Linked DNA regions of Homo sapiens: region 2 is linked to region 1. Evidence: promoter capture Hi-C in human tissues and cell types (Jung and others, 2019). All regions are on one chromosome and are shown on one strand. Each heading gives the region's core, a stretch centred on a gene start or on the middle of the fragment in contact. The rest is flanking DNA. Distances are from core to core; before and after follow the strand shown.

What was found. Contacts are between HindIII fragments. The study calls those that stand out against the background at their distance.
Region 2: the fragment with the promoter of HOXC4 here is called in contact with a fragment that was not itself captured in region 1 in 7 of the 25 tissues and cell types used here (bladder, lymphoblastoid cells, mesendoderm cells and 4 more).

The regions. Positions count from the first base shown.
Region 1 is chr12:54,215,926-54,220,823 of GRCh38, forward strand. No RefSeq gene overlaps it. Among named protein-coding and RNA genes, the nearest start is that of MIR3198-2, 13 kb to the right of the region's middle. RefSeq lists silencers at 75-260, 2,062-2,111. The HindIII fragment of the contact is 3,556 bases long and covers 181-3,736 here.
Region 2 is chr12:54,051,957-54,056,854 of GRCh38, forward strand. HOXC4 (homeobox C4) reads left to right here and starts at 1,879. Exons shown (of 2, transcript NM_153633.3): 1 at 1,879-2,405; 2 at 2,894-4,074. The coding sequence starts at 1,967. The coding sequence ends at 3,249. RefSeq lists enhancers at 1-656, 657-1,638, 934-1,093 and a cis regulatory region at 1,670-2,170. The HindIII fragment of the contact is 12,403 bases long and covers 1-4,898 here.

The sequences.
Region 1 (4,898 bases), core at 709-3,208:
GCAAGCTTCCCAGAGGAGCCTTTTCTAGGGTTGCAGGGAGGACATTTCAGGAGCGGCCCTGAATGCGCCAAAGCTAGGGGATGGGACTGGCGAGTTGCCACGGGAGCCCACGTGAGGGTCTTCGAGGAGGTCTGCGCCACCCGGGTGCAACCCGAGGCTACGGTTCATCCAAACACACCTCGCCCCATCCGGCTGGGGAAGGACTTCCTGCAAGCCCTGAGTGGGGGTGTGTGGCGGGACCACCCAGGTGTCCATCCAGGTGGGCAGTGAGCGTGAGAGCACCTGGTCAGGAACCTCCCACCTCTCGGGCCCTGCAGCCGCTTCCGTGGGGGAAGGGCAGCCGACTTCACCTAAGCTTCCACCTACTGCATCTAACCCTTAACTGTATCTCCCGCCCCCACCACCCCTGACGGGTTCCCATTATAAGAGGGTTTCAGATAACTCACCTCCCACCCCGGGAACGACGTCATCACCCCTTCACCCTCTGCCACCACGTCTGACTCCAACGGGGAAGTCCTTCCTGGTGTCTGACCACCCTTCCTCCTGCTGCAGCTTCAGCTAAACCTAACAACTTCTGACCTCACAGGAGAAAGGGGCTGCCTTAACTTTCCTTCTCTGAGCTAAACAATCCAAATCTCCAGCCCCTTTTCCACGCTCACATCCCATTTTCCCGTTCTAACAAAGCTTTCCTTTAGGGGCCTGGATCTTCCGTTTTTCCCGCCTTCCGACGTCAGATCAATCCATGACAGCTTTCTGATTGGCTAACCCCTCCCTTCTAATTGCCCCTGTCACTTCAGAACCTCCCCTGCTGTATCAATATGTAAGTCCCACAGATGGCCTCAGTTTCCCTGGTAGGGAGTTGAGCCGCCTCTTGGCACCCTCTTGCTTTGGGAGGAGGGGTGTCCTGCTCAACTCACCCGAGTCATCTCTTCCCTGCCCAAGCTTCTGAACAGGACACTGCCACATTGTCATTCATCTGAAAAGCATTTATTGAGCGCCTACTATATGTCTGGCCCGAATTCTTGTCTCAGCTCACAGCCCTCCGGTTGCTCCATAGGCTTAGGGGAAGGAGCAGGAGATCTTGAAATGCCAATCTCCAGTCTGGAGCGTGGGGTAAGAGAACTGAAGTCGTCTGCGACTGAGTGAAGCCACCGAGGAGGGGCGGGGAGGTGGGACGCCTGCAGGTCTCGGCGCTCGGAAACCGCGGAGAGGAAGCATCGCTAGGCGCCCCACCCTCACAGCGCTCAAACCTGACGCCGGATTTCCCATTCTTAGCGCAAGGAAGACCCCTTGTGGCCATTGTGGGAAGAGTCAGCAAGGGAAAAAAAAAAAAGCGGGAAAAAAAACAAGCCAGAGCCGGGAGATGACAGCCTCAGCCCAGACTCCCTTCCAGTTCTTGCCTAGCGTGGGGACTTATTCTTTGGTCGTTGGGTGGGGGAGAGGGGGCGGGAGTTGATGCCCAGGCCCCACTCCCACACCCTCAGAACCCAACATTTGGGACTTTGGGAATAATCTTCTCACTAAACCACCCGGAAAAATAAAACAGAAACAATAGCAAATGTGACTATGGTTAGACTTCTGTAGGGACTTCTCAAGAAGCGGATGGGAGGCAGAAGGACGGGTCACAATAAAGGGATGAAAGAAATCAGGTCTTCCGGACGACCCCCTCCCTGGCTATGGGGAGGGGTAATTCTGGGAGACCCGGGCGGGTGTGGGATCATCTACCCACCCTGCGGCTCCTTCCCGCTCGCAGTGAAGGAAGGACGCTCAGACCAACAGGGGCTCAGGTATTCTGGGTGTCAGGACCCTTCCTCCTGCACGCATCTTACGCAGGGTGGGGCTGAGGGCGTGAGGGCACAAGTCATTGAGGACATGGAGGGAACCCACGCTCGTCCCGATAGATTGTCACGGTCCTGAGGCGGGACGGTCAGGACAGGGAAGATGTATTTCTTCCCCCTGCATCCCCTCCCGCACCGCGTCTGAACTCCTCTGGGAGCGCAAGAACAGTAACAATGCTGCGCCCCTTCCCCCACCCTTTGACTCCGCTCGCAACCTAGCCCGGGCCGGGCAGCGCGAATTTGCATACATTTGCATACCCAGCTGCGCACAGCTGCATTCGGCTTTGGGCCATAAATTCGTGGCTGGCGGCTCTGGGCGAGCAGGCCCCACGCGGGGCAGGCGTTCTCCCTGCGCGCCTCCGCCGCGGCTGTTCACGTCCCGGGTACTGGCGCGTTCTCACGCCTCCCTGAGTAACCGCTGGATCAGTCCTGCCCGGACCCGGCTCCCCTGGCTCGAGCCACCTTCTGGGCATGTCTGTCTCGCACTGGCGCAGGCCAAGCCTGCAATCTCAGATTCTGGTTCCTCCATTTCTCTTGGACTCGACTTGGTCAATGTCTCCTGAATGCGCTCATCTTTACCTGACGCCTTGGACCAGGGGCTTCTGGTGGGATTTTCCTGCTAGGACTGGTGCATAGCCTCTTAGGTGGTAGTCCTGCCTCTGGGGTTACCTTGCTAAAAAATTGGTCTAATGGAGGTCAACAGCTAAAAACTCTGGACTCCCAGGCTTGCAGAATAAAGCTTATATTGTTCACCCTTGCCAAAGAAAGCCCCTGACGTTCTGTCAGCATCCCCCTTCTCTAGCCTTATCTTCTGCATCATGGCCAGACTCAGGCACACAACAGCCAGCGCTTCGGTTACACAAAACTGCTCTGAGGGTCCCTAAGCTCCTCATGAGCTCTCTCACTCTGCCTGGACTTACCTGCACCTTGCTTCCACCTGGACTGCTCTTCTGCCCTCTTGTCTGTTTGACAGACACATTCTTTGAAAATCATTGCACAGACGTTCTTTCCTTTGGAAAGACCTCTGAGATTCCTCTCACCCCTGGCAATTGATAATGACATCTATTAGCACTTACTGCAAAAACATTTGGTCAGTTGCACTTACCAAATTGTGAGCTCTCACTTAAGACAGAGAATATGTCTGTTCTTTGCTGTATCCCACTTCTGGGCACAAAGTCTGAAGACCAGGAGATACTCAAATACTGAATAAATGAGTGAGGCCTTGACTATTTCAGGCACACATAGATACCCAGGGCTCTGGTGGTCCCAAGCAGCCTTTACATGACATCCCATGGAAGAGCCCCTCCTCTTGGTACTTTTTGGGTCCTTACGCATCTTGGCCCAAGATTGTGAGGGGTGAGAAACCAGGGGGATTATGAGTGGAGAGCTGATGCCGTGAAAAAGCACTGGACTCCGAGCCAAGAAGCTGAGGTTCAAACTCTGGCACCGCATGATCTTGGAGAAGTAACTGCCTCCTTCGAAGGCTGTTTCCTCACCTTAAAATGGGAATAATAGTGACTACTTAATAGGGACTTTGTAATGATGGAGCGAGAATAGTACATAAAATGCTTACTACATGTCTTAAGAGTCCAGACAGGTGACATGAGGTTCCATCTCACTCCCTTGCCCCCGAGAAGGAGAGCACCTCCACTAACAATCCAGGCCAAGAGGCTTAAGGAATTTTACCAGTATGCATTCTGCAAGAAAGTATGAGACAGCGGCCGGGTGCGGTGGCTCACGCCTGTAATCCCAGCACTTTGAGAGGCCGAGGCGGCGGATCATGTGGTCAGGAGATCGAGACCATCCTGGCTAACATGGTGAAACCCCGTCTCTACTAAAAATACAAAAAAAAAAAAAAAAAAAAAATTAGCCGGGCATGGTGGTGGGCGCCTGTAGTCCCAGCTACTCGGGAGGCTGAGGCAGGAGAATGGCGTGAACCCGGGAGGCGGAGCTTGCAGTGAGCCAAGATCGTGCCACTGCACTCCAGCCTGGGTGACAGAGCGAGACAAAGAAACGAAACGAAACGAAAAGAAAAGAAAAGAAAAGAGAAGACCGGGCGCGGTGGCTCAAGCCTGGAATCCTAGCACTTTGGGAGGCCGAGGCGGGCGGATCACAAGGTCAGGAGATCGAGACCATCCTGGCCAACATGGTGAAACCCCGTCTTTACTAAAAATACAAATATTAGCCGGGCGCGGTGGCAGGCGCCTGTAGTCTCAGCTACTCGGGAGGCTGAGGCAGGAGAATGGCATGAACCTGGGAGGCGGAGCTTGCAGTGAGCCGAGATCACGCCACTGCACTCCAGCCTGGGTGACAGAGCGAGACTCCGTCTCAAAAAAAAAAAAAAAAAAAAAAAAAAAGAGAGAGAGAGAGAAAGAAAAAGTATGAGACAGCAAGAATTCATCTTGTAGGATGGGGTTCATACCGGTTCTTCTGCTGAGCATAGTTCTCAGTGCTATTCCCACAGTGGCTACCAGGGGGCAGCACAAACCCCCAAATCACCTCAGGCTGCCTAAAGGGGCTAGAAGAAAGGACCCTTCTGGACTTCCCTCTGAGTATTGAGCCCTAGTCTGAACATGCCTCCCCTGTCTCCACCGTCTTCTCCCAGACAGCTCTTGGTGTGCAAACCACGCCTCCCCCAGTGCTTCCTGTCTTCTCTGGTTTTGTGTTCCCTTGGTCAATTTATAACAAATGTCCAGCAGGGCTCGTTGGCTCACGCCTGTAATCCCAGCACTTTGGGAGACCGAGGCGGATGGATCGCTTGAGGTCAGGAGTTTGAGACCAGTCTGGCCAACATGGTGAAACCCCGTCTCTACTAGAAATACAAAAATTAACCCGGCGTGGTTGCCCACGTCTGTAATCCCAGCTATTCAGGAAGCTGAGGCAGGAGACTCTGTTGAACCCGGGAGGTGGAGGTTGCAGTGAGCCAAGACAGCGCCACTCCATCTCAAAAGGAAAGGGAAAAAAATGTCCAGGCCTCCTAACTGTCCAGACTGCCCTTAATTATGGTCAATTATGCCCTAAGTGTGCATCCCAGGATTGGGAGGGGCACAGTCAAAGCTT
Region 2 (4,898 bases), core at 629-3,128, 160 kb before region 1:
GGCTTTATTTTTTTTTTCCCTTTCCCCTCCTCATTCCCTTAATTGCAGATGTTCTAATTAAACCCTCAAATAGTTGTTATGCCGTTTTAAAAGGTACTTATTCAAGTGTCAACCAGGCTGGGCTGGGAGGAGGTAGCGTAGGGCGGCGAATTAAAGGTAGATTGACTAATCACGGCGGCGATCATAATAATAAAATCAGAGGGAAAAAAAATCACATTACGACTTTTCGTGGAAAGGAGGGAGCAGGCAGCCAGCGGCCGCCAGCCCTGCGCCGCCGCCGACACAAAGAGTGCGGGCGATTCCGCGAGACTGATTTATGACGTTTTACAGCCCTATAAAAGCTGTAGCGACGAGGCAAGCGCTCCTACCACCGCTGGCAGATTTAGTCTAATAAATAAAACATAAACAGTTAACTTTATGTGTCACTTTTATTGTTATCAAGTAAAATATAGCTGAGCCCTGGCAAGCTATGATTTTAAACTATAATTGTTATCAAGTACAACAAGGGGACCCGGCTCCCTCCCTGGGCTCTCCCCTCCGCTACCCCCCGCAACTCTGAGTTATGGGCGATCAGTTAATTGGAATCGGTGGCATGACAGGACCACCCCTAGCTGGGGGGGGGGGGTGGTGGTTAGGAAAGCAGCTTTTCCTGGCCCCCTCCCTCCTCTACGGCCCTGTCACCCCCCTCCATCAGAGTATTACTGTGAGTGGGTGGCAGAGAGAGAGCAGGGGGTGTGAATGGGCTGGAGACCCCAAAGGCTGGCCGTGCCTCCCCAACTTGGTGAGCTTAGCCTTCCGTTTTTGGAAAGCAGCCTGGAGCTGGCCTTTAGGAATTCGTGTTTACATGTAAACACACGTGTTACATGGATACAGCTCCTAGCCAGAAGCAAGCAGGCTCTACCCACACAGGCCTCCCTCTTAGCTAGGTCTGCCCTCTGTGGGGACAGAGAAAGAACTCTCAGGATCTTGGCTGGGCACCATCACAGGGCACTGACTCCTGGCAGAAAGCTCTCCTCCTTGCCCCAGCTCCTTGGAGATAATTGTCAGAAAATAGCAGGCCGGGCTGAATGGGGAGTGGAAACAGAAGCCAGCAGTAGAAGAGATCCTCTGCTCTGGGGCTGGGGCAGGGAGGGTCAGTGGGTAGCAGGGGAAGGCGAGACTTCTGAACTCTGCTTTTGCCAACCACTTCCTGTCTCTCTTCAGCGGGGGCTCAACCCCCAGACCTCCAGAAATGACGTCAGAATCATTTGCATCCCGCTGCCTCTACCTGCCTGGTCCAGCTGGGACCCTGCCTCGCCGGCCGCATGGCCAGAGGGTTGGGTGAGTGTGTATGGGGAAGAGGGGCTGGACTCTGGTATCCTTGGATGGGGGGCACTCCAGGCTCTCCAGCCTCCTCGGCTCAGCCTGGGCCCCTCCCCATCCAACATCCACTCCAGTCCTCATTCAACTTCCTCTTCCTGCGAAAGAGGGGCGCTGCCCCGTGACCTACACAGACTGAGACACGATCGCCATGAATGGAGACCTCTGGAAAAGCTCAGGAGCCGAGGCCCACGGGGCCCAGCAGAGGCCTGAGGGGAGACCCTGGGCGGGGGCTGAATCACTGCCTCCCGACAGTCCCCCAATGCCCGGGCTTTGGAGGGGAGCCGGGAGCTTCCCATCTCCTTTTGCAGGGGAGGGTTGTCAGTCTGGCGGGATGTGCACTGGGGGCACTCCAACCTCTGCTAGCTAACCCCACATCACCACCCACCCCCGCCTCCCAGCACCACCACCACCACACACACAAAAAAATTGGATACATTTTGAATAAAGCGATTCGGTTCCTTATCCGGGGACTGGGTTGCTCCGTGTGATTGGCCGGAGGAGTCACATGGTGAAAGTAACTTTACAGGGTCGCTAGCTAGTAGGAGGGCTTTATGGAGCAGAAAAACGACAAAGCGAGAAAAATTATTTTCCACTCCAGAAATTAATGATCATGAGCTCGTATTTGATGGACTCTAACTACATCGATCCGAAATTTCCTCCATGCGAAGAATATTCGCAAAATAGCTACATCCCTGAACACAGTCCGGAATATTACGGCCGGACCAGGGAATCGGGATTCCAGCATCACCACCAGGAGCTGTACCCACCACCGCCTCCGCGCCCTAGCTACCCTGAGCGCCAGTATAGCTGCACCAGTCTCCAGGGGCCCGGCAATTCGCGAGGCCACGGGCCGGCCCAGGCGGGCCACCACCACCCCGAGAAATCACAGTCGCTCTGCGAGCCGGCGCCTCTCTCAGGCGCCTCCGCCTCCCCGTCCCCAGCCCCGCCAGCCTGCAGCCAGCCAGCCCCCGACCATCCCTCCAGCGCCGCCAGCAAGCAACCCATAGTCTACCCATGGATGAAAAAAATTCACGTTAGCACGGGTAGGCAACTTTGCTTTTTGCTCCCCCCCTCCCTCCCTTCTTCCCTAGCGCTCCCCACCCTCCTCGGCCCCCTCTGGCCCCCGTCCTCCTTTCTCTCCTTCCCCCTCTCTCTCCAGGAGCGACTCTGGGTTAGCACAATTGAACTGGATTTACGAGCGAGAATGGGTAATTACATCCCCCATAAATTTTATGGCTTAGCTACTCTGGGCAGTCCGAGCCATGTGCTACGATCTGTTATGTATGTGTGAAAACTATGCTCGCTTTCTAAGGGCGCATAAATAATTCAGTGTCGTTACAATGAGGATTCCCCTCTTATTACACTACAAAGTCTTCAGCTTCCTTCAACTTCTTTATAACCCATTTAAGCTTGATGACTTTATTTCCACCACTCCCTCCTCCTGTTTCTCAGAGCTGAGGATGGGGTGAGGGTGGGGGGCGGGGAGCCTGCTGCCTCTGAACCCCACTATTTGCTTTTCCCCTCCCCCCAGTGAACCCCAATTATAACGGAGGGGAACCCAAGCGCTCGAGGACAGCCTATACCCGGCAGCAAGTCCTGGAATTAGAGAAAGAGTTTCATTACAACCGCTACCTGACCCGAAGGAGAAGGATCGAGATCGCCCACTCGCTGTGCCTCTCTGAGAGGCAGATCAAAATCTGGTTCCAAAACCGTCGCATGAAATGGAAGAAGGACCACCGACTCCCCAACACCAAAGTCAGGTCAGCACCCCCGGCCGGCGCTGCGCCCAGCACCCTTTCGGCAGCTACCCCGGGTACTTCTGAAGACCACTCCCAGAGCGCCACGCCGCCGGAGCAGCAACGGGCAGAGGACATTACCAGGTTATAAAACATAACTCACACCCCTGCCCCCACCCCATGCCCCCACCCTCCCCTCACACACAAATTGACTCTTATTTATAGAATTTAATATATATATATATATATATATATATAGGTTCTTTTCTCTCTTCCTCTCACCTTGTCCCTTGTCAGTTCCAAACAGACAAAACAGATAAACAAACAAGCCCCCTGCCCTCCTCTCCCTCCCACTGTTAAGGACCCTTTTAAGCATGTGATGTTGTCTTAGCATGGTACCTGCTGGGTGTTTTTTTTTAAAAGGCCATTTTGGGGGGTTATTTATTTTTTAAGAAAAAAAGCTGCAAAAATTATATATTGCAAGGTGTGATGGTCTGGCTTGGGTGAATTTCAGGGGAAATGAGGAAAAGAAAAAAGGAAAGAAATTTTAAAGCCAATTCTCATCCTTCTCCTCCTCCTCCTTCCCCCCCTCTTTCCTTAGGCCTTTTGCATTGAAAATGCACCAGGGGAGGTTAGTGAGGGGGAAGTCATTTTAAGGAGAACAAAGCTATGAAGTTCTTTTGTATTATTGTTGGGGGGGGGTGTGGGAGGAGAGGGGGCGAAGACAGCAGACAAAGCTAAATGCATCTGGAGAGCCTCTCAGAGCTGTTCAGTTTGAGGAGCCAAAAGAAAATCAAAATGAACTTTCAGTTCAGAGAGGCAGTCTATAGGTAGAATCTCTCCCCACCCCTATCGTGGTTATTGTGTTTTTGGACTGAATTTACTTGATTATTGTAAAACTTGCAATAAAGAATTTTAGTGTCGATGTGAAATGCCCCGTGATCAATAATAAACCAGTGGATGTGAATTAGTTTTACGTCAATGTCTGATGGTTTCTTTTTATTCCCCTCCCTCTCTGGCCTGGTAACATCCCATCTTCTCTATAGTTGCCTAAGTTTACTTTAAACAAACACACAAATCTTAGCTCTCCATTAGTCTTCCAATGTCCTTAGAAGAACAAGCAAGGGGGTTGGGGTATGGGATCTTCAGAAGAGGGGATGTGGAAGATTAAGGCTGATTTCTCCAGTCCCCTTCCTTCCCCCTGAGTCTGCAGAGAGACCAGACTCCTCTGGGGGCACTTCAGTGGAGCTGAGGGTGGGGAGTGTCTCACTTTTCTATAGTTAGGTACAGTTTCTTCTTTTTGTCTTTTCTCTCTCTTCCCTTCTCCCTCCTCTGTGCTGAGTAGGCCTGCCTACTTTGTAGACAAGGGGGCAAGTTTAGGGAGTGGGAAGGAGAATAGTTTTCTTTCATCTTTTAGGGCTCTTTTGGGATGAGGGATTAAGGAAGACATCCCCTCAACATTTGAGTTCTTAAAAGAAGGAAGGTTTTGAGCTGGTGACTCTGAAGCAGCAAAGTCACCTGTCAGGATGCCTTCTCTGTTTGTTTAGGCTTGGAAAAAAGACTGGCCAGAGGCCTGGGAGGTACCCTTGTTATGGATAGGCCTCAAAGGCTGATGCCTGGAGATAATAAAAGACTTTTACCTTTTTATTCTCTAACTTTTATTATGGACCTGCCAGGTGTTGCGAAGAGACTTAGGGAGAGTCAAGGACCACCCTCTCTTCCTATAACCTCCCAGGTCCTGGCAGCGTATGGGGATAGCCTGAACAAGTTTCTCTGGCTGTAAAGAAATAAATTAATTAA